Linked DNA regions of Homo sapiens: regions 1, 3 and 4 are each linked to region 2. Evidence: promoter capture Hi-C in 16 types of primary human blood cells and fetal thymus (Javierre and others, 2016). All regions are on one chromosome and are shown on one strand. The core of a region is centred on a gene start or on the middle of the fragment in contact, and the rest is flanking DNA. Distances in the headings are between cores, read along the strand shown.

What was found. The method cuts DNA at HindIII sites, captures the fragments that hold promoters and counts their contacts. A CHiCAGO score of 5 or more calls a contact.
Region 1: a fragment that was not itself captured here is called in contact with the fragment with the promoter of MSRB2 in region 2 in 1 of 17 cell types (total CD8 T cells); the score reaches 5.4 in total CD8 T cells.
Region 3: a fragment that was not itself captured here is called in contact with the fragment with the promoter of MSRB2 in region 2 in 3 of 17 cell types (total CD4 T cells, naive CD4 T cells and fetal thymus); the score reaches 8.2 in total CD4 T cells.
Region 4: a fragment that was not itself captured here is called in contact with the fragment with the promoter of MSRB2 in region 2 in 1 of 17 cell types (naive B cells); the score reaches 7.7 in naive B cells.

Annotation. Positions count from the first base shown.
Region 1 is chr10:21,975,900-21,981,928 of GRCh38, forward strand. The region is part of intron 1 of DNAJC1 (DnaJ heat shock protein family (Hsp40) member C1); the gene reads right to left. Among named protein-coding and RNA genes, the nearest start is that of DNAJC1, 25 kb to the right of the region's middle. The HindIII fragment of the contact is 399 bases long and covers 2,161-2,559 here.
Region 2 is chr10:23,092,310-23,098,183 of GRCh38, forward strand. It overlaps MSRB2 (methionine sulfoxide reductase B2), which reads left to right and starts at 3,270. Exons shown (of 5, transcript NM_012228.4): 1 at 3,270-3,417. The coding sequence starts at 3,300. LOC107984215 (a long non-coding RNA gene) reads right to left here and starts at 2,970. Exons shown (of 3, transcript XR_001747394.2): 1 at 2,511-2,970. RefSeq lists a silencer at 3,078-3,547. The HindIII fragment of the contact is 9,169 bases long and covers 346-5,874 here.
Region 3 is chr10:22,027,006-22,032,877 of GRCh38, forward strand. No RefSeq gene overlaps it. Among named protein-coding and RNA genes, the nearest start is that of DNAJC1, 26 kb to the left of the region's middle. The HindIII fragment of the contact is 570 bases long and covers 2,781-3,350 here.
Region 4 is chr10:21,547,043-21,553,477 of GRCh38, forward strand. All of the region lies in intron 3 of MLLT10 (MLLT10 histone lysine methyltransferase DOT1L cofactor), which reads left to right. Among named protein-coding and RNA genes, the nearest start is that of MLLT10, 16 kb to the left of the region's middle. RefSeq lists a silencer at 4,031-4,215. The HindIII fragment of the contact is 179 bases long and covers 2,404-2,582 here.

The DNA of each region.
Region 1 (6,029 bases), core at 1,110-3,609, 1.1 Mb before region 2:
GCCTAAAGGTTTTTTTAAAAAGTTAGATTCACCTCAAGTTTCTTCTAGATAAATTATGGGAAAATTAGGGAAAGAGTAACATATTTAGATGGGCAAAAATATAATAGGGAAATCTTAAAATGCACTGAAGAGGTCCATAAATTAGCTGCTGCATAAGCAGCTTTATCTATATTACAGTTTATTACTTTTAAGAGAAACTTTGAATCTTGAAGGACCATACAATAAGATTTTTTTTCAAAAGACAGTAATAGATTTATTGCTGGAAACTGTATTCATCTTCCTGATTCCAAAATACAGTCATGTATCTTCTTTATCCATATTTGAGAACCAGGATCAAATTTTTACATAGCCTACAAAATCTAGAAAAGTATATACCAACCAGGCATGCAACATTTGGTAATGAACATATTGTAAAATGTTGGCATATGTAAAAGGCTTTGATTCTATGAGGTAGGGCCAATAATAAAAGCATGTGATTGTTCAGTCGTAAACTAAGGCAATCCATACAAACATTTATTAACTGTTACACTGTCTTTTCCCTACTACCCACAGGTCCTGAAAGTACCAACATCATCCCACTGTCATCTGAAATTACATGCCACATCTTCTTCTGGCCAGTTATTTGTCACTGAATCTTTGTAGTAATAATTCCTAAGACGCTAGTCAAATAATAGGAAAATGCCAACAGACCATATTAGTGGGGGAGAGTTAAAAGGAATATGTACATACTGTATTTCTTAACCCATCAAAAATCAACAGAAGTCTGAAAAGGTTACCCTTGCATTTTAGGAGTAAGCGATGTTTTCCAGTTCTGTTTTTTTTCTCAGCTCTTCCCACTAAGCAACAAAACGCAAACGAGCTAGAGAATTCTGCCTTCCTTATGCTACAGAGGCTATGTTTAATGACTCCTGTGGCCATGTTAAAATCAGTGGAGGAAGAGACAAACACTGCAGCTTCTGCCTTTCTCTAAGTCTTCTTGAATGCCGCCGGCCCACCCACTAGGCTCCCCTATTTCTCTTTTCTTCCGTAACAACAACAGCACAAACATTGCAAAAGCAACCAATCAAAACAAGTAGCATCAGTAAAGGGGCAATGGGGCCAATGGTAAGCAACAGAAGCAAAAAGCAGTGACAGTCTCCAATTTGCTCTCATCAATGAGTCAGAGCATACTAAGGCTTCTTTGTACGTAGGTAGAGAACATGGTGGACACTCACACTGCTGGCCTCTTACTCTCCCGGCAATTCTCACAAACACAAAAGTAGAATCCTAGGACTCAGTACTTAAATACCAGAACAACATTCAAGACCTTATCTTAGCAATTTTTTAAAAAGAAAACTACCACACTTAAGAAATGAAAAAAACACACACACACACACAAAATGACTATGCAAGTAAACTTTTATTATGTAGCTAAAAGCTGCAATTTAGATAGTCTAATTAATCTACAAAGCTCAGTTTCTATAAAACAACTATTAGCAGGTTTTCTTCAAGAATTTACTCCTTATTTTGTAGACATCCACGTGAACTAAAATATGAATCAAAATAACAACTCTAAAGGAGAAATAATTTCCCAAAGTAGTAATTACTAACTAAACCCAAGAAAAGACTTGTGTGGCTTAAAGAAGTACAGATATCTCTCTATTTATAGGCTGAACACCCTAATTCCAGAAGCCAATTTTGAACTTGAGTTTAGAATTGATTCCCAGTGCAGGGGACCAAAATATACATGCCCAGGCGCCAACAGTCAATTATTAAGCTTTTTTCACATTAAATAAAAGAAAAACATCTTAACACATCCAATACATATTTAAGTTAAGAGTCAGGAGGCTTATGTTATAGTGCAACCCTGCATATGAACATTATATTATTTTAAATCCCCACTTCCCCACCTGGATAGTGAGGGTTCCTAATCAGTGTTTTCTCTCTTTTGGAAAGCTGATGTGATTGTCTAATATAAAAATTCTTTGAAAAACCTACAGAAAAATAATAAGTAAATTTCTTTTCAAAGTGACAAGGGAAAAAAAATCTATGCCCAAGATATTTTTCTACATTTGTACATCAAACCAATATTTAGATGATATTTAACAGCAAAAAGTTTTTTAACAATAAGAATGTCTGTTTTTTATATAGGAGCATTTGACTTATTTTGTAATTTAGATAAGCTTCAATAGTTTCTCTTCCTAAAGCTCTTTCACTCCTCACAAGTTCTTCCATCTATCTCATTCCTCATCATCCAAATATATATAGATTTTTCTTAACTTTTTAAATAGGTAATACAATATTCAAAAAGTACTTATGAACATAAAAGTTCCTGGCAACCAGTCACCCAGAAGCACATCTCCATCAAGAGGGAAATTTGAACAGAGGGAGAGAGAAACATGCAACAACATGCAAACTCTTTAAGAATTTCCATTATTTCTTGAAGCAACATTTTGTAGAACTAATACACTGATAAAGTATAGAATTTGAAAGCCTCTCCTTTCAGTAAAGTGGGAAAGTCGATTAGCAAGTGAAAAGATTGGCTCAGAACCTAGTAAGACAGGGGTCAGCAATTTCTTAAGCTTGAAGTGCTTTCAGTAAAGCCAGACAATGCTAGGGAATAGCACACACAGGCCTAGTATTTACAGACAACATGTGGCAGTCTATCAGTTGATTACATTTTGTCTTCCAATACTATCAAATTATTTCCTGTATGTAAAAGGCAGGAATCCTACATTTCTGTCAAAGATTCCACAAAACCTGGCAGTGCTAGTGACTACTAAAGTAGATGAAGAAGTAGAATGAGTCACAGGAAAAAGAGGGAAAAGACTGGAAACATACACAAACTTCCCACAAGAGCTGATACAAGACCCAAGAATCCTAAGGTAAAAATACTTTTAAAAACTGTATCATGAAGCCACCATTTATTCAGAGTCTGTAAATTCAGTAAGTGATATGTTTATACAATGTTATCAGAAACATCTAAGGCTATAAAAAATACATATATAGGAAATACCGACTCTGGCTAAACACACTGTCACTGAGGTGTAATCGGTTACTCAGATTATTACAGATTAATTACCTCTATGACTTTTTTAATTTGAATGATCTTATATACAATTAGTAAACAGCGGAATGATATTCTTATAATGCAGAGTTAGGTATGTAAGTTCGACTTGATTTTTTTTTCCCCTGGCACATTCATTTTTTTTTAATGATCCAAGATAAGTTTTCTTGCAATTAAAGACAAAACCTTAGTAAAATATGAAGATCTTTTAAAAAAAACCAGCTAGAAATCTATTAGACGTGCCTTCTATTAATATAAGTAGTAGCTGGTTTTGTGGCTTCAAGAACTTCTATGGTTTCTACTATGTAAAGCTATCTGATCAATCTCTGAGTGCAGCTCAAGAAGCTGCAAAGACATTTCCTTCATTTTCAAAAGGGCTCTTATCTGAATCATATGTATTTTTATTCAACTGATCTAAAGAATCTATATCCCAAATAAGGAAGCATGAGAACAAGGGTTTAAAGGATTTTAAGAACTATGATGCCAGGTTAAAATGCTAGAGGAGATTTAATTGATTTTTTAAAGTATTATTATTTTCATGAGTGCTTATAAGGTTCCACAGATTTTGAACGCTGTACCTCAACCCTATTTTTCCCATAGGTACTGTTATTTTTAGGGTGTGACTTTGCAGAATATGAAGCCATATATGGTTTTACAGTGGGAATACATGTACTTGGATCTGGTCTACCTGGATAAAGTAAGAAATAATGGAAAGTAAACTAAAGACAGAATACCTGTAAAGGAGATATCCTTATTTATAATTTTTCTTTTTTTTTTTTTCACCATGGCTTTACCTTCTGCAAGTCAATCCGGCTAAGGTACAATGGATAAAACGATTATCAAGCTTCTCTTTCTTACCTACCCACAGCAAACTTTGTTCCAGGCCTTTGACACCTTCATTGTTTTTGATAATAATCAAAGCTTTCTGCTCCTATGACTTTTGCAGTCATATGTCAAAACTGCATATGTCTGCTCCTATGACTTTTGCAGTCAAAAGTCCTATGACTTTTGCATTCTGCTTATTATGAATCCTGTTCAGAGTTTATTTTTGTCTTGTTCCCCAGCTTATTTTTCCAGAATCAAAACATTAACAGAGTTGCGGGGCTGGAAAGTCCTTAGGTTATCTAGTCTAACTTTACACTATTCTATATTATTAGCTACAAATATCTACTGACCACAGGGCTAAACAAGTGCTAGAAATGGCAGTGAACAAAAACAGGCACAAAATCCAGATATTGAACAAACTATATACACATATACACACATATATTTCCTAGTTCTGTCCATTAAGAAGTAATTTCCTACAAAGAAATTAACAAAGAGAAAATAGTAATTTTACGGTGGAGAAACCTGGCAGACACTTAACCAAATGATCAAAGTTAACATCATCTGTGATGAGATATATGGATATCATGTGCCTCCTGATACAATACACTGAAAAGGGCACACCACTTCCATAGTATTTATAACAAACATGCATAGTTTGAATTTAATCATGAGGAAATATTAGACAAACCCAAACTGTGGGACACTTTAAAATATAACTGTCCAATATTCTCCAAAAGTGTCAAGGTCAAGAAAGACTGAGGAACTGTCCCAGAGTGGACATAAATGAGATAAAACAACTAAATGTGTGATTCTGCACCAGGAAAAGGATGTTAATGGGACAGCTGGAAAATCTGAATAACATCTGTAGATAACACTGTAACAGTGTTAATGTCCTGGTTTTTATCAATTTATTAAGGTTACATCTGAGAAAGCCAGGTGAAAGGTATATGAGAACTGTATTATTTTTGCCACCTTTTGTTAAGCCTAAAATTATTTCAAAATGAAAAATTATACATAAAAAGTTTTAAAATATATTTCTTAAGTCTAATATTTGAAGTCAGTGATCACATATTTCCTTAGCCTTTCCTTTTCAGACTAAATGTGTTCTTCTTTTTGGGCAAGATTCCCAGAAACCCTACTGTATTTGTAGCTCCCCTTAAAAAAAAATTCAGTTTGTTAATATTCCTCCTTAAGTGTGGTACCAGGAGTGTTTATAATACATTGATGGAGATTGCATTAAATTTCTCATTTTCTGTGATCAAGTCACTCTCTGTTTCTATGTTTATTAATGCAAATTAGAGTTGAATTTTAAAAGCAGATGCATAATGCTGTTGGCCTAATTCAGCATGTAAACAACTAAAACCTGAGTGTTCATCTTTACTGAAGTCAAACCAGATCTCCCCGTTTTATATTTGTGCAAATGATTTTCTCAAGCAAAATGTAGAATTACATTTTTCCCTGATTACTTCCATCCTTTCAACTCATAGTTTACGATGGTATGGAGACCAGTTAGATTATTCTGAATGATAATTCTATCATTTACTCACTTGGCATGTATTCAGCACATACCATTTGCGGTGTACTATAAATTAAGAATCTATTAAAAATTTGCCATGGAATTGAGAGCAGTCATATCTGATTGGAAGAGCAAGCAATGGAGAAAATCTTTAATAATGGGATTAAATTTGGGCTGGGCCTTTAAGAATAGGTAACATTTAAATAGTAAGAAACAATTACAAAATAACAGTTATGATCTTTGAGCCTAACAGATAAGCTCCACAAGTTGTTAGTTTTCTGAGACTGGGCAAGTCTCTGAAATTCAATTTCCTCATTTGTAAAATGGGGAAAAAATGCCTTACTAAGTAGGGCTGTTTTAAAGATTACATGAGATAATATGTGTATTCAAAAACAGCCTTTTCAGCAGACGGTGCCAGGAAAACTGGATATCTGCATGCAAAAGAATAAAATTGAACCCTTACCTTTAACAAAGACTGTCTCCTTGACTAAACTCTAGTCAGGCTCCTCTAAACCATCTTCACAGCTAGGCCTCAACCTTTGAACTTCTATCTCCTCCTTTGCATCGTCCAATTTTAGCAAGAATTCTGCTAAGAGAGTTAAGCCAGAAACCCTACCATTGATATCCGATCACCCTCAA
Region 2 (5,874 bases), core at 2,020-4,519:
ATAAGAAAACTGATCTGTCACAGGTTGAATACTTGATCAAGCTCATGCGTCTTTTAAATTTAAGATATTCTGACTTGAATGTGTTTTACACCAGACTCCATGATTTTTTTCCCACAATGTCACAATGTTAAGTTAATTTATTAACTTTGCTTGGGATTGGGGGTGAAGGTGGGTGAGTTAAACCGGTATTCCTTGATATTTTCTAAATTCTAAACTTTAGGGGAACTTTACAAACTCTTCAACTAACTAGCAGTGTGATCATAGACAAGGTACTTATCCTCTCTGGATTTGAATTTGTTTACTTATTACTCAGATACAAAACCAGACAGATACTATAAGAGAGGAAGCTTTCAGTCCAACATCCTTCATCAACACAGACACAAAAATTCTAAAAAAATGTAATCCATGATACATAGAACATAATCCAACAATACATGAAACAAATAATAAAACTGACAAAGCAGGCTTTATTGAAGAAATACTAAGTTGGTTTAACGTTTGAAAATCAAGTAACAAACTACAAAAAGAAAATAGGAAAAAGGTATGATTATATCAGTAGCTGCAGAAAAGCATTTGACAAAAATCCAACATCCCTTCCTGATAAAAACTCTCAGTAGACTACAAATAGAAATTTCCTTAATCTGATAGAAAATTTATGAAAAACTTATAGCTAATATCATACTTAATGGTAAAAGGCTGAATACTTTTCCTCTAAGATCAGGAACAAGACAAGGATGTTCACTCTCAACATTTCTATTCAACACTGCGCAGGCTCTAACCAGTGCAATAAGGCAAGAAAAAGAAATCAAAGACATCTGTATTAAAAAGAAAGAGTAAAACTCTTTCTACACAGATGACATGATTTTTCTATGTAGAAAATCTGATAAAATCCATAAAATGTTACTAGAACTAAGAAATGAGTTTAGAAAGATTACAGAATACAAGATCAATATACAAAATCTACATACTAGCAATCAGAAATTGAAATTGATAAAACAATACCACAGCATCAAAAATATGAAATGCTTTAGGATGAATCTATCAAAAGATGTGCAAAACCTATACAGTGAAAACTACAAAACACTACTAGTAGGTGTTAAGGAAGACCTAAATAAATAGATAGGCATATCTTTATTCATGGGTCAAAAGATTCAATATTGTTATGATATTAATTTCCCCCAAACTTATGGATAGAATCAATGCAATCCCAATCAAAACTTAAGTAAGATCATGTGTAGAAATTGACAGACTGAATCTAAAATTTATGTTGAAATACAAAAGACCTAAAATAGCCCAAACAACCTTAAAAAAGAACAGAGGTACAGTACCAATGCTAGCTGGTTGCAAGTCCAGTCATCAGGATATTGTAATATTGATGTAAAAATAGACAAATTAATTAATGGGACAAAATAGGAAGTCCAGAAATAGACACAACACATTGATAGGAAACTGATTTTTGACAGATTCAAAAACAGTTCAGTGGAGAAAGAGTAGTCTTTTAAAAATTGGTGCTAGGAGCCAGGCCTGGTGGCTCACGCCTGTAATCCCAGCACTTTGGGAGGCCGAGGCAGGCAGATTACCTGAGATCAGGAGTTCAAGACCAGACTGGCCAACATGGTGAAACCCCGTCTCTACTAAAAATACAAAAATTAGCCAGACGTGGTGGCACACGCCTGTAATCCCAGCTACTCAGGAGGCTGAGGCAGAAGAATTGCTTGAGCCTGGAAGATGGAAGTTGCAGTGAGCCAAGATCGTGCCACTGCACTCCAGCCTGGCCGACAGAGACTCTGTCTCAATCAATCAATCAATCAATCAATAAAAATGGTGCTGGAACAACTGGATATAGATATGCAAAAAACAAAACAGATAAACAAAACAAAACAAAAATTTTGGCCATATATAAAAATTCTAAATCGGTCAGAGACCTAAATGTAAAACCTAGAACTATAAAAATTTTAGAACAAAACATAGGAGAGAATCTTTGTGATCTTGGATTAGGCAAAGATTTCTTAAATATGATACCAAAAAAAGAACAATCCATTAACAAATTGATAAATTGGGCTTCATCAAAATTAAAAACTGCTCTTCCCAAGACAATATTAGGAGACAGAAAAGACAAACAAGAGACTGGGAAAAAAAATCTTTGTAAAGCATATGTTTGATAAAAGATTTGCATCCAAAATATATAAAGTGTTCTAAGCTCAATAATGAAACAACTCAACATTAAATGGGCAAAAGATCTGAACGGACACTTCACCAAGGAAAATACACTCGCTGCAAATACGCACATGAAAAGATGCTTAACATCATTAACGATTAGAGAATGCATAATAAAGCCACAATGAGCTACCACTACACAGAACCGGAACATCTACAGTTAAAATCTCTGGACTTTCAAGTGTTGGCAAGGATGAAGAACAACTGGAACTCGCATAGACTGCTAGTGGGAAGGTAAAGAAAAAAACCACTTGGGAAAACAGTATAGTAGTTTCTTAAATGGTTACACCTACCTTACGACCTGGGCATTCCACTTCCAGGTATTTACCCCAGAGAGGAAAAACCGTATATGTCTGTACAAAGATTTGCACAGGGATGTTCCTAGCAGCTGTAGTTCTAATCAGGAAAAATTGAAAGCAGGCTAAATCAAGTGCTGACTAAACACACGGTGGTATATCCATAAATGGAATACTGCTCAGGAAGCAATGAATGATTGTTCCATGCAAAAACACGCAGGCATGTCAAAGTAACTATGTTGAGTGAAAGAAGCCAGACAAAATCAAGTACATATGGGATGATTCCATTTATGGACGACTCTAGAAAATGCAAACTAAAACAGATCAGTGTTTGGGCTGCGGATGAGTGGAGTTGGGATAGGTGGAGGGGGGCAGGGCGAGGGAGGAGCAGGAGTGGGAGGAGCTGGGAGATGCAGAGATGGGTTGGGGAGGGTCTCATGGAAGGGAAGGGAGAGAGGAAGGGGGAGAGGAAGGGGGAGGAAAGGCAAGGGGAAAAGGAGAGGAAGAGGGAGGGGGAGAGAGAGGCAGAGTGGGAGGAAAGAGGGGCGGGGACCTGGGAGGGCCCAGGGCACATAGTGGGAGGAGCAGGTGGGAAGGAGGGAAGGAGGGAGGGGCAGGGGAGGGAGAAGAGGGGGAGGGAGACGAGGGGACTGGCGGTGTGGGCGGAGCGTGGGGAGGGAGGCCGACTAGCGCAGGCGGACGGGAGAGAATGGGGGAGGGGTGGGATGGGAGCAGGGGCAGAGACGGGCAGAGGGCAGAGGGCGGAGCGGCGCCGGAGCGGGCGTCATGGCGCGGCTCCTCTGGTTGCTCCGGGGCCTGACCCTCGGAACTGCGCCTCGGCGGGCGGTGCGGGGCCAAGCGGGCGGCGGCGGGCCCGGCACCGGGCCGGGACTGGGGGAGGCAGGTAGGACGCGGGTCCCGCAGGCCCCGCCGCCGCCTACGGCTTTCGGCTTCATTTCACCGGCTGCACCCGGGAGCCTAGGGCCGGTCCAGGCCGGGCGCTGCCCTCCTACTAAGCCCTCCTCGGCGCGCCCCTCCCCCCCCCCAGCCCGAGGATCTGGGACAGTGGATTGTAAACTTGGTGGCGGCAGGGTGGGGACTGACCCCTGTGAGAATCCGAGGAAATGAACAAATGATCCCCCTAAATGTGCGCATAATTTTTTTTTTCTTGGCTCGGGGAGTGGGGGCATAAGTGGGGCTCGGGGGCCTCTGACCCCTATCGGGGACTCCAGGCGAAGGCCCGGGGCCTGGGCTGTAGCAGCCCGGCCCGCGCGCCCCTGCGAAGGCCCCTAGTATTTTGCATTGCAGCCCTCTTCGTAGTTCCGCGGGCTTCCTTCCAGCATCTGAGAAGCAGGCAGTTCAGACTTGGGGTTCCTGTGAGTGTTTCCTGCCCTGCTGACTTCCCATAAATGTGTCTAAGAGCCAGGGAGACTGGGTTGATCATTTGTTCCTTCTTTAAGGTGACAGCCATTGTTAATGACTGAGACAGAGACCAGGGCGAGCCTGTGTGTGTGTGTCTCTCTCTCTCTCTGTGTGTGTGTGTGTGTGTGTTTCTGCTAAATACTTTTGGATCCTCTCTTGGATCTGGGTACCTGCACATTTCACCAAGCAGGAAGGAGTCACCTCGGGAGACCTGTGCCAGCTACCCCTGTATTTCAGTTCTATTTCAGGGTAACTTAGTGCCCCAGGGGATTGGCTTCCTGGGCGGTTGCCAGACTGACCCACTCTGAATCCAATTTTATATGTGTTCATTGAAGACATTCAGAGATACCCAACTGATGAAAATGTACCAACTCATTCTGAGCTCTTTTTAGCCCCTGAAGTTTTCGAAATGCAATATTGAAAGAATACGTAACTAAATAAAAGCGTTGGCGTTGTGGAATGTTAGCTCATCCAACTTGACTTCCAGCTATGGCCTTTCTAATCACTGGTGTCTCTAGTCAGTCTGATGACATTTGCTGTGAGCCTACTGTGTGCCAAGCATTGTATTGCTGAGAACCACAGGTGATAGAAACAGGTCACAGTTACCGACGAGCTCTCTATAACCCCTTGAAAAAGGATGGTGGTTTTAGCGGTAACTACTTCATGGCTGTAATTGCTGCTGTCAGAAGCAGCCTAATGAATTGCCCTGGGATCTGAAGTTCTCCAGCAACAATAAAATTTGGCCAGCCACCAGTAGGTAACAGGAGCTGTGTACCTTATCAGACACCCCTCCTGGGAATCTATTCGAAGGAAATAGTTCAAAAGAAGAACAAAGAGATATATGCAAAGATGCTTTAAGCACTAGTCTCTTACAAAATGGAAACTGGCTGTAACCCAAATCAGTTAAGAAATACTTACGTAAATCATGAAAATTCAATCCAACAAACTGTTAGGCAGCCATTAAAAATGATAAACGGAGTATTTCTGTGGTGAAGGGCTTGGGTATGAATAGATGCAGATTTTGAGTCTTGGCTCTCGGTTACTTCCTGGCTCTGTGTCTGAGCTCAGGCTGCTATTGCAAAACACCGTGGACTGGGTGGCTTCAACAACATTTTCTCACAGTTCTGGAGGCTGGGAAGTCCAAGATCAAGGTGGGAACAGATTTGGTTCCTGATGCAGACCTGCTTCCTGGCTTGCAGTTGACTGCCTTCTCACTCTGCCTTCAGGTGACTGTCTCAGGAAGGACCACTAATCCCTCAAGAGAGCCTCACCTTTATGATCTAATCTAAAACTAATAACCTCCCAAGCCCCACCTCCACATTCCATCTCATTGGGAGTTAGGGCTTTAGCATATGGGAGTGGGGAGAGGAGCAGGGAGAACATATAATATTCAGTTTGTAACAATGTCTTTGGACATGTTTCTTGAATTTGGAAAGTTTAAACTTCAGATTTTTTTTCCTTCTGTCAAATAAGGATAATGATAATGGTAGGGTTGTTGTAAAGAATAACTTTTTAATTAAATATTTTGTTACAATGCTTGACACTTAGGCACACAATAAATGTTAGTTATGATTACATAAATAAGTGGAAAGGACAAAAATGTAGCTACATTTAACTTACATCATGGGCTTCGGGAGTGTTGAGAGAGAGGGAGACATTGGGAGGGGGGAAATGAGAAGATATTGAAATGACAGTATTTTTTTCCAGTGCTGCAATTTCTCATATGCTTAGAGTGATTTTTTTTAATCCAGATTGACAAAGAGCAAACTGAAAAAGGAAAGTAAGAAATATTCTGGAGCAAAAAATCTGTTGCTTCAGGAAAATATTCTTTCTAGAGATGACTATGCTAGGAAACTGTCCTGGGCATAGGGTTAAAATAGTCCAGGCACTGGTGGGAGAGACTAGTTCTGCAGATCAGAATGGGCTGGGGATTCTTTTA
Region 3 (5,872 bases), core at 1,816-4,315, 1.1 Mb before region 2:
TTTTTTTTAGACGTAGTTTCCTTGAGTTCTTTGAGCATATTTAAAATAGTTGATTTAAAGTATTTGTCTAGTTACTCCACCATCTGAGTTTCCTCAGGGAAAATTTCTATTGCCTCCTTTTTTCCTGTGTGTGGTCGGTCCATACTTTCTTATTTCCTTGCATTTCTCACAATTTTTTGTTAAAAATGGGATGTTTTAAATTATATAATGTGACAAATATGGAAATCAGATTTCCCTTCAATTCTCAGGGTTTGTTTTTGCTATTTGTTTTTTAGTGAGTTTCCTGAATTCATTCTCCAAAGTATGATTTTTTTTTCATGTGTGACCACTGATATCTCTTCTTGGTTATCTTAATGGGCAGTTAATGACTGTACAGAGATTTCCTTAAACTCTTGGAACCAACAAGCCTGCCAGCCTTTGCTGAGGGGTGTTGTGTGCATATTGGGATTTGCCTCCAATGTTCAGACAGGCAGTTTACAATTCTGCTTCAAATTTCACTTTCTGCTTGCACAGAGACTGATAGTTAGCCAGAGGCGAGGGTTTAGGACCATCTCAGCAATTTCCTGGGCATGCGCATGCACACAGCCCTGTGCATATGTGTAGCCTTCTAGTTTCCCAGGAATATATCAGAGCTTTTCAAAGCTTATTATTAATATCTTATTCTCCCGCATTTCCTTTTAAGTTTTTGGTCAGCTTGTTGTTTGTCCTAGCTGTTATCATCACAAGCCTCGTGCAGCTGTAATGTTAAATAATTGCCACTAATTGTTTTTGACAAATACCTTTGGGTAAAATGCTGTTCATGGTGAGTGCTCCCTGAGTCGGGTCGAATAAAGACAAGTCTTATGAGTGAGATTTTCCAGGAACCTGCCAGACAGGTCACGTAATGACCATTATCTAGGAATGGGGCTTCAACATTCTGTTCCCTCCAGTGGCTTCTAGATTGTTAGCTTTCACCATGATTGCAGTTCTCTTTGTTTTCAAGGCTACTCTAGAGCTGGGGAGAGGAGCATGAGGACAGAGTAGGTTAAAATGCCATCAAGCCTCCTGTTCTTACCAGGATTCAGCCATTTTTCTTGCCTAAGCACTCAAATTTTTGCAAGCCTTTGGTTAATTTTCAGAGTTATGAAAAGTTGAATTTGACAGTTGTTTTTTTTTTTTTGCCAGTGTTCTTGTTGCTTTTATGGAGAAATAAATTTTCAGAGGTTCTTACTCTGCCATCCTTGAACTATTGTCCAGGTCCCAGTATTATTTTTTTAACTTTTTATTTTGACAAAATTATGAAATCACCTGCAGTTGTAGGAAGTAATACAAAGAAATCTCATATACCTTTTACTCAGTTTCTTTTCATGGTAACAGCTTGCATAACTAGAGTACAATATCCTAACCAGAAAACTTATACTGCTGCAAACTATTGACTTTATTCAGTTGTTACCAGATTTGCATACATTCACTTGTGTATGTGTGGTGTGTGTGTGTGTGTGTGTGTATGCATAAGTAGGTGTGTTTAGTTCTATGCAATTTTACCACGGTTAAGTTACATAATGGTTCTATCACAACGATCCTTCATGTTATTCTTTATTCCTTCATAGCCAGTCATGTCAACTCTTCCCCAAACCACCACTCCTAACATCTGTTCTCTAAGTCTATAATGTCATCTCAAGAGTGTCATGGAGTATATCATTCAATGAAATATCATTTGGCAATTAAAAGACAGTACTGACACATGGCACAACATGGATGAACCTTGAAAATATGCCACGTGAAAGAAGCCAAGCACAAAGGATCACACAACGGATGACTCCATTTCTTTTTGAAATGTCCAGAATAGACAAATCTGTAGAGACAGAAAGGAGATTAGTAGTTGCCATGGGCTGGGTGGGATGGGGGGAATTTTTGGTGATGGCTAAGTGATCTAGAAGGGAGGGCTTAATAAAAATGTCCTAAGATTGATTGTGGTGATGGTTGCACCTCTGTGAATATACTAAAAGCCATTGAATTGTACACTTTAAATGGGTGAATTACATGGCACGTGAACTATATCTCAATAAAGGTGTTTTTTAAAAAAAGAATGCAATGGAAATAGAGTCAGACAATAGGTGACTCTCTGAGACTGGTCCTATCATTTTAAAGCAAAAGTTTGGTCCCAGAGAAAGTATCTGTTGCAGATGTAGTAGATACATAATAATACAGTACAGAAAAGTTAGATATGAGCTATCATAGTTGAGTGTGGTAAGAGGTCACTTGGCATGGTCAGAAGGAAGGGGAGAACCTGCCAGCTCTCAGAGGAGTCTAGGTGGGATTACCATGCACATATAAATACAATCCAGGTGGGTCTCTTTTCAAGTCTACTCCAAGGATGAGATTTCTCAACTCTTTCTGGAACTGGACCCAAATGGGATGGATGAAAATAAGCTGTTTCAGCTCAATTCAGATAAGGCTTTTATTGGAAGAGAAAGCCAACAACGATAGAAATTTACACATACACTGAGGTTCACCGCCTCAGCTGCTTCTAGATTCACAGATAAAAACCATAGAGCAGAGTTCCTTTCTGTACTTGGCACAGAGATTAAACACCCTCATATGTGGCTCTTATCTTGTTTTGTACTTTTACTTCCCTCCGCACTAGATCATTACAAAGCTTTCTACTGGGAGAGACACGTTTCTAGACCTTATGTAATTATTTTCTGGTAGAAATGGAGTGACTCATTCAACTATAGAACGCTGTCCCTTGATCAGTGTTATCGTGGTTACTCACCATCGATCAGCATTCAGTAGAAGTAAGCTTGATTGCAATTAGCCTTTGTAGATCAGTGCATGATATAGTTTCAAAGCTAGAAATTTGAGAATTGAACATTTTCAAAAAGAGCTCCTAAAGGCAAATCCTTTAATAATTTCAAAATATCAAGAACTCACAATTTTCTGAGATAGATAGCTTATATGAATGGTCTCTATTTGAGAGAGAGAGAGAGAGGTAAAAGGTTATTTGCCGTTACTCTGACACTGGGTTCCTGCCCATTGTGTATTGCACTTTCACAGTAGAACAAAACTGCAAGAGTAATTAATCCTTAACTGGCTAAATAAACTCTCTCTCACAGAGCATTACCTTCTCTGACTTTAGAGATATTAACTACCGTAGAAATGTTTCACAAACGTGGTATTTCATGAACGTTAGAACAGAGTTCATTCTCTAAACCAGGGTTGGCAAACGTTTTCTGTAAAGGGCTAGATATTAACTATTTTAGATTTTGTGGACCACGTAGTCTCTGTTGAAACTAATCTACTCTGCCATGGTAGCCCAAACACAGCCATAGATAATAAGTAAATGAAGAGGTATGACTGTGTTCCAACGAAGCTTTATTTGTGAACACTGAAGTTTGAATTTTATATCAATTTCCACTGTTATAAAAATGTTGTTTTGATTTTTTTTCCAAAAATTTTTTTTTCTTAGTTCACAGGCTCTATAGAAACAGGGATGGAGCCAGATTTGGCCTGTGGGGCTTCGTCTGTCTGCTCCTGCTCTAACTGATGGAAGAGTAAAAACATCATAGGCTGTACAGAAGAGTGGTTTGGAAGCTGTGACTTGGTATCAGGCAGATATGAGTTTGAATACTGGCTTTTCCACTCACTAGGTGTATGACCTTGGGCAAGTTACACAACCTGTTTAAACCTCAGCGTCCTCATCTATAAAAGTGAGGATGATAACAGCCACTAATAGGAATGCTGTAAAAATTAAATGAAATAATACATGTATGTTTAGCACATACATGGTCATAGTGAATGCAGTTAAACCTACAGCAAGTGTCATGAGAAGTACAAAGCCTTTCCTTTTCTCAGATCTGTATCCGCACCCTGGAATTCATAGAGGGATATTTATCAAGACAGTATGGATCAGGCCAAATCTTAGAGTCATTCCTGAGTCCTATTCTCTTTTCCCCCCATTCAATTCAGCAGCAAATCATGTCTTCTCTAACTTCAAAATTTTCCCAGAATCTGACCATTTCTCCACAACCATCACCCTAATCCATGCCACCATCAACTCTCATCTGGTCTTTCTGGTTCCACCCTTGCCTCCTCTCACCTAATCTCTGCAGAAATGCTTCTAAAATATAACTCAGATTGCTTCATTCCTCTTCCCCAAACCCTCTAATCATTCATGCAGAGGAAAATCCCAGGTCCTTACCATCTAAGCCCTCTGGTCTCCTACACTCTTCCCCTTGCTCCCTCAGCCCCAGCCAGAGTGGCATCGTTGTCCTTCAAAACTGTCAATCCTGCTCCCACTTCCCACTTAATATTTGTTGGTATGTCTGTCTGGAATGTTCTTCTCCCAGATAACAAAGTAGTTTCAATTTTACTAGTTCCCTCACGTCACTGCCCAAATATAATATTATTAGAAAAGCATTTCCTGACTCTCCTTAAATGATCTCATCCTACTTGGTGGTCATATTACCACCTCCCACTATATTTCATATTTATTTGTGGATTGGATGCCTCCCCCTTCTAGAAGGTAAGCTCATGAAAGCAGACTTTATGTATCTTGTTTACAGCTGCATCCTCAATGTCTAAAACAGTGCCTGACACTGAGTAGTTTCAAATTTGTTGAGTGAATTAATAAATGACTTTTTGCTGCTCTAAAATTTTCTCAAGTTCGTGAGCTTCTTGAGTATTATTCTTATATTCATTAGATTATATGTTTTGCTGTGTATAAGAAACAGATTAGAGAGAAATTAATTTACTTATTTATTACTCAAGATTCTGGAGGTAGGAGATTTAGATTCCAATGTCTGCTTGTTACCAAGTTCCAAAGTCACTTCCACATTTTCAGATATCTTTATAGCAATGCCCCATTCCTTGGTACCAATTTTCCATTTTAGTCTGTTTCCGCATTGCTATTTAAAAAAATACCTGAAGGCAGGGTGTGGTGGCTCATGTCTGTAATCCTAGCACTTTGGGAGGCTGAGGTGGGTGGATCATTTGAGGTCAGGAGCTCGAGACCAGCCTGACCAATATGGTGAAACCCCACCTCTACTAAAAATACAAAAAAATTAGCCAGGCATGGTGGCATGTGCCTGTAGTTCCCAGCTACTGGGGAGGCTGAGACAGGAGAATTGCTTGAACCCGGGAGGCGGAGGTTGCAGTGAGCCGAGGTTCTGCCACTGCACTCCAGCCTGGGCAATGAAGTGAGACTCCGTCTCAAAAACAAACAAACAGACAAACAAACCAACAAAAAAACACAAAAACACCTGAGACTGGGTAATTTATAAAGAAAAGAGGTTTAGTTGGCTCACTGATATGGTTTGGCTATGTCCCCACCCAAGTCTCGTCTTGAATTCCCTCATGTTGTGGGAGGGACCCAGTGGGAGGTAATTAAATCATGGGGGCAAGTCTTTCCCATGCTGTTCTCGTGACAGTGAATAAATCTCATGAGATCTGACGGTTTTATAAAGAGGAGTTCCCCTGCACAAGCTCTCTTTGTCTGCTGCCATCCATGTAAGACATGACTTGCTCCTCCTTGCCTTCTGCCATGATTGTGAGGCCTCCCCAGCCATGTGGAACTGTGAGTCCATTAAACCTTTTAACTGTATAAATTACCCAGTCTCAGGGATGTCTTTATTAGCAGTGTGAAAATGGACTAATACACTCATAGTTCAGCAGTCTGTACAGGAAGCATGGTGGCTTCTGCTTCTGGGGAGGCCTCAGGGATCTTTTACTCAGGAGATTTGTCCAGGTAATGAGGCTTCCTCTAATTTGTTGCTATGATTTCTAAAGTGTGTTGTCCTTTTCTGAATGATCCACAATGGGTCTCTATTATATATATACTTATTTCAAGCAGCAGGAAGGAGGAAGAGGTGGGAAAGCCACACATAGACTCTAT
Region 4 (6,435 bases), core at 1,243-3,742, 1.5 Mb before region 2:
TATTTTTAGTAGAAATGGGGTTTTACCATGTTGGCCAGGCTGGTCTCAAACTCCTGACCTCAGGTAATCCTCCTGCCTTGGCCTCCCAAAGTGCTGGGATTACAGGTGTGAGCCACCCCGCCTGACCCCTTCATTCTTTTATTTTTTTTAATTCTCTGCTGATTTGGAGGTCATATGCTCTATTTCTTTTATTTTAGTGATTGCACTTAAAGTTTTAACATGCATACTTAATGTTTTTCTGAGTCTTAATATCTGTACTCCGTTTGAACAAAACAAAGGTCCTTGGGACGCCTTGATTCCTTTGGTTCTTTTTCCCTCGCACAATCTATGTTATTGTTGTCTTTATTACTCTGCTGTTTTCTTTTTTTTTTTTTTTTAAGATAGGGTCTCACTGTGTTGCCCAGGCTGGTCTGGAACTCTTGGGCTCATGTGATCCTCTCACCTTAGCCTTCTAAGTAGCTGGAATTACTCCATCTGTTTTTTTCTTTTTTTTTTTTGGTGATAGAGTCTCACTGTCACCCAGGCTGGAGTGCAGTAGTGTGATCTCGGCTCACTGCAACCTCCGCCTTTCATGTTCAAGTGATTCTCATGGGTTCAGCGATTCTCATGCCTCAGCCTCTTGAGTAGCTGGGACTACAGGCACATGCCACCTTGTCCGGCTAATTTTTGTATTTTTAATAGAGATGGGGTTTCACCATGTTGGCCAGGCTGTTCTTGAACTCCTGACCTCAGGTAATGTTCCTGCTTTGGCCTCCCAAAGTGCTGGTATTACAGGCGTGAGCCACTGTGCGTCTTATTTTGAATCTTCTAAATAATCGTGTGTTTTAAAAAAATAGTTATTTATAATTAGGCTTAATATTACTCATGTTTTTGTTCAATCTAGCCTTTTATTTTCCTTGTTTGTGGGTTCATTTTTTTTACTTTGAAGGTTTTGGTATTTTTTTCTCAGGGTCTGAGGCTAGTAAGTAATAAGTAAGAAAGTTATATTAGTCTTTTTGTGTCTACGAATTTCATTATTTTGCTCTCTTGGAAGCTAGTTTGAATCCTTTGATAATAGCTATTTTCCTGTAACTAAAGATTTTATTCTAGTTTGTCTTCTGGTGTCTGTTGGTTGATAAACAATCTTTTGAGTTTGTTTATCCTGTTTGAGACTTGGTCTGCTTTTTCATTCTGAGGACTCAGTGTCCTTCCATTTTTTATTTTCTACTCTGTCTCTTCAAATACTGTAACCTTCTCATTAACTTTTCTTTTCCTAGAACTGTTAGGTATATGTTTGGGATTTTCATTCTGTTTTTCATGTCTTTTAATTTGTCTTTCATATTTTCTATCTTATCTTTTTTTTTTTTTTTGAGACGGAGCCTCTGTTGCCCAGGCTGGAGTGCAGTGTTGCGATCTCGGCTCACTGCAAGCTCCGCCTCCCGGGTTCACGCCATTCTCCTGCCTCAGCCTCCTAAGTAGCTGGGAATACAGGTGCCCGCCGCTACGCCCGGCTAATTTTGTGTATTTTTAGCAGAGACGGGGTTTTTCCATGTGAGCCGAGATGGTCTTGATCTCCTGACTTCATGATCCACTCACCTTTGCCTCCCAAAATGCTGGGATCACAGGTGTGAGCCACTGTGCCCGGCCTTTCTGTCTTATCTTTGCATTACTGATAATATCTTTAACTCTGTCTTCAGATTTATGCTTATTTTTAATTCAGTGAATTAATTTTTTTCTGAGTAAATTTCTAGAATTTTTGTGTGATTTTATTTTTCAATTTGTCTCTTTTTTCAGGGTATCTTGCTTTATTGTTTGAAGAATTATATTCGTTTTTTTATTTGAACATTTAAAACATACTTATTGTAAAGATTCTCAGATTTTGGAATTCTTTGTTAACTCTGGTGATAGATGTCTTTATATATTGTGTAATTTTTGACTGCAGGCTAATCTTCAGGTGGAGTTGTCTTTCCTGGGATTCCTGTTCCTCTACCATGAGTTGTGAAGATGTCACTGTGGGGTTTTTGCCTTTGCTCTCTGTCTTTTAAGAATTGTGTTTGGCCGACCAGATTATAATGGTTTCTACAAGTCAGGAGCTTATTCCTTTTTTTTTTTTTTTTTTTAGACTTGAGTCTTGCTCTGTCACCCTGGCTGGAGTGCAGTGGCGCAGTCTCGGCTCACTGCAACCTGCACCTCCCGGATTCAAGCAGTTCTCCTGCCTCAGCCTCCCCAGTAGCTGGGATTATAGGCATGTGCCACCACTCCTGGCGAATTTTTTGTATTTTTAGTAGAGATGGGGTTTCACTGTGTTTCGATCTCCTGACCTCGTCATCCGCCCGCCTTGGCCTCCCAAAGTGCTAGGATTACAGGCGTGAGCCACTGCACCCGTCCAGTTATTCTTTTACTTAAAAGCAAAAGGCATTTTGAAGCTTCGATGACAGCTCTCTTAAGTCACTAGGGAGTATGCTTTTTCTATCTTCCTTCTGTATCAGCCTTAGCACATAGTTTTCATGTTCAGGGTTATCCCATAGTCAAAGCATGGCAGCTGGAACTGCAGTCATTGTGACTACAAAAGAAGTCCCAGGCAGAAAGAAGGGGAGAGGGTAAGCTTCAAGTGTGGTCCTCTAACTGAGTTGTACTCTTTTTTTTTTTTTTTTTTTTGAGAGAGTGTCTTGCTCTGTTGCCCAGGCTGGAATGCAGTGGCCGCGATCCTCTACTTCCCGGGTTCTCCTGCCTTAGCTTCCCGAGTAGCTGGGATTACAGGTGTGTGCCACTATGCCTGGCTAATTTTTGTATTTTTTGTAGAAATGGGGTTTCGCCATGTCGGCCAGGCTGGTCTCAAACTCCTGACCTCAGGTGATCTGCCCGCCTTGGCCTCCCAAAGTGCTGGGATTACAGGCGTGAGCCATCGCGCCTAGCTCTGAGTTGTACTCTTAAACTAATTGTCCTTGAGGCTCCACTCAACAACTTAGGCTTAATTTTACTGGCTCTTAATTGTTACTGAGCCTGCAAAATGTGGTCATAAAGTTGGGCCCATTGATAAACTGGTTAAAGTGAGAGTTCTGTTAGTAGGGAAGAAGGAGAAAATAGACTTGGATTGGTAGCTGCAGAGTCTGTTACAGTTTGCCTAATGGGGTTCATTGCTCCAGGCCAGTCTCTAAGTTTGTTTCTTGGCTTGGATTTCTACATCCTTTAGATAATAGATTTTGGGCCCCATACCTTCCCTCAGTATCCCCTTGGATTTCTAGAGTGAGTCATCTACTCACATCTGGAGCAAGCATCTAATTTCTGTGCAGCTTCCCTAGTCTTAGTAGTCCAGCACATGGTTTTCTAGAGTCTCTTCCTGTTATGACATGGATCCTTATCAGCTCTTGTCCTTATATAGGGAACCCAGTTAGAGCTTTTCTCCATATCTTTAGTCTATGTTGCTGTCATAGTCAGTCCTACCCTCTAAGGTATTGTTTCTGATAGCTTCGTTAACTGCCCCAGCTTCAATTTAATACTGATTCCTTTAGCTTTTTGTTTGTTTTTGAGACAGGGTCTTGCCCTGTTACCCAGGCTAGAGTGCAGTGATGCAATCTCAGCTCACTTCAACCTCCGCCTCCTGGGTTGGAGCGATTCACCTTCCTTAGCCTTATGAGTAGCTGGGACTACGGATGGGTGCCACCAAGCCCAGCTAATTTTTGTATTTTTAGTAGAGACGGGGGTTTCACATGTTGCCCAGGCTGGTCTCAAACTTCTGACTTCAAGTGATTTGCCTGACTCAGCCTACCAAAGTGCTGGGATTACAGACGTGAGCTATGGCGTCCGGCCTTATTTAGCTTTAAAGTTCTTTTTTATTTCTGCCACCTGGAGAGTTACCTTTATTCACATAATTAAAAATTGTTTTCAGATTTCTTTTATCTTTAATTTTTTTTTTTTTTTTGAAATGGAGTCTTGCTCTGTCACCCAGTGCAGTGGTACGATCTTAGCTCACTGCAACCTCTGCCTCCCAGGTTCAAGTGTTCAGGTGATTCTCCTGCCTTAGCCTCCTGAGTAGCTGGGATTACAGGCACGCGCCACCACGCCCGGCTGATTTTTGTGTTTTTAGTAGAGACGGGGTTTCACCACGTTGGTCAGGTTGGTCTCGAGCTCCTGACCTCATGATCCGCCTGCCTCGGCCTCCCAAAGTGCTGGGATTATAGGCGTGAGCCACCGTGCCCGGCCAACTTATCTTTGATTTCTAAGTGCAAGAAGCCAGGCTGAGTGCCAAAAAGTACTCGGATTGTACCTTTTTTTTTTTTTTTTTTTTTTTTTTTACATAACACAAATAACTTTTTTATTTCTGTACAGGCTTTTTAGCCTGTACACTTTAAATAGAATGTCTTTAAAGTTGAACATTTACTAACTTTTTTTTTGTTACTGCTGACTCATAATCTAGTATTTCATTTTAAATTCAGCATAATATCGTAAGTTCCTATAGCTTTCAAAGAGGTGGTTTTCAAAAATTAACACATTTGGTGCTTACCATCATAGACCGATAACATAGCCAGTTTTACTTGCTTGTTTCTTGAATTCCTTTTCCTTTTAATGTGAGAAAAGGCTAGCATAAGGGCAGGAATGAAGCAGGTGCTTAATACTTGTTTGTATTCTTTTCTAACCTCCCTACAAAACTAGTAAGAGAATTGAAAACATAGATGTACTTTGATAAATTGCCTAGCATATGGTATCTGTTTATTCTGTTTTTGTGTTTAGACTTTTTTTTTTTTTTAAATTAAGTCTAATAGTTTCTGTCTCTCTCTCTTTTTTTTTTTTTAGGCAGAGTCTCGCTCTGTTGCCCAGGCTAAAGTGCAGTGGTGTGATCTCAGCCCACTGCAACCTCTGCTCCCCGGGTTCAAGCGATTCTCCTGCCTCAGCCTCCCAAGTAGGTGGGATTACAGGCACACACCACCATGCCTGGGCAATTTTTGTATTTTTAGAGACGGAGTTTCACCATGTTGGCCAGGCTGGTCTCGAGCTTCTGACCTCAGGTCATCCTCCCACCTCAACCTCTCAGGTAGCTGGAACTATAGGTACACACCGCCATGCCTGTGTAATTTCTACATTTTTTGTACGGATGGGGTCTCACTATGTTGCTAGGCTGGTCTCGATCTCCTGGGTTCAAGGGATCCTCCAGCCTTGGCCTCCCAAAGTACTGGGACTACAGGCGTGAGCTACCCTGCCTGGTTTTTGCTAATTTCCAAGACAAAAATATACAGCAGTGTTATTACTTTTTGGTGTTAATTTTTATTTTTTTCCTCTGTGATTAATATTTGTTCTGTATTTCAGCTTTCCTTGTGTTTTTTTTCTTCTAAGACTATAAGACTAAATCTTTGTATATCTTCTTATTGCTTTTTTTTTTTTTTTTTTTGAGATGGAGTTTTGCTTTTGTCACCCAGGCCAGAGTATAGTGACAGTGATCTCAGCTCACTGCAACCTTCACCTCCTGGGTTCAAGCGATTCTCCTGCCTCAGCCTCCTGAGTAGCAAGGATTACAGGCGCCTGCCACCACGCCTGGCTAGTTTTTGTATTTTTAATAGAGACGGGGCTTTACCGTGTTGGCCAGGCTGGTCTCGATCTCCTGACCTCAGGTGATCCACCCGCCTCGGCCTCCCAAAGTGCTAGGATTACAGGCGTGAGCCACCATGCCCGGCCTCTCTCATTGCTTTCTTAAATAATCTGCATGGTTATCGTATTAGGTCGTTTATAGATTCACTTTTCCTTTCCTTCCTTTTATCTTCTTTTCTGTTTATTTTCTTCTTCCTCTTCTTTCCGTCTCCTCTTTCTCCTCTCTTTGATTTTATTCTTCTCTGTTCCTCCTTGCGCCTTCCTCCTCCCTCTTTCTTCTCTCCCCTTTTACTTTCCCTTGTCTTTCCTCCCCCTTCCTTTCCTTTTTAAACCAGGGACCTTCTTCTGGGTACCATCTGCTTGCTCCCATCTGGTCTGTTTGCTCCTTAGGCTTGCTGGAGCATCCTAAGGAACATCCCTTCACCATTATCTTGGAGTTTTCTTCTTGCTTATATTGGATTCCCTGTTTTTCTATCCCCCTACTCCCCTGTTTCTTTATATTTAAGAAGGCACATCTTCTGGCAGCTTCATAGGAAAAGGCGCATGAGAAATAAATTAGGGTTTTGCATGGTTGATAAAATGGGATTGCTATCTTACTTGATTGTTTGACAGAATACATAGAATTCTTGGTTGGAAATCATTTTCCGTCAGAATTTGAAGATATTTCTCTACTGCCTTTTAGCTTTCAGTGTTACTGTTAGCAAGTCCAAAGCAGTTCTAATTTTTTTTTTTTTTTTTTGAGAAGGAGTCTCACTCTGTCACCTGGGCTGGAGTGCAGTGGTGTGATCTCTGCTCACTACAACCTCTGCATCCCGGGTTCAAGAGATTTTCCTTCCTCAGCCTCCCGAGTAGCTGAGACTACAGGCGTGTGCC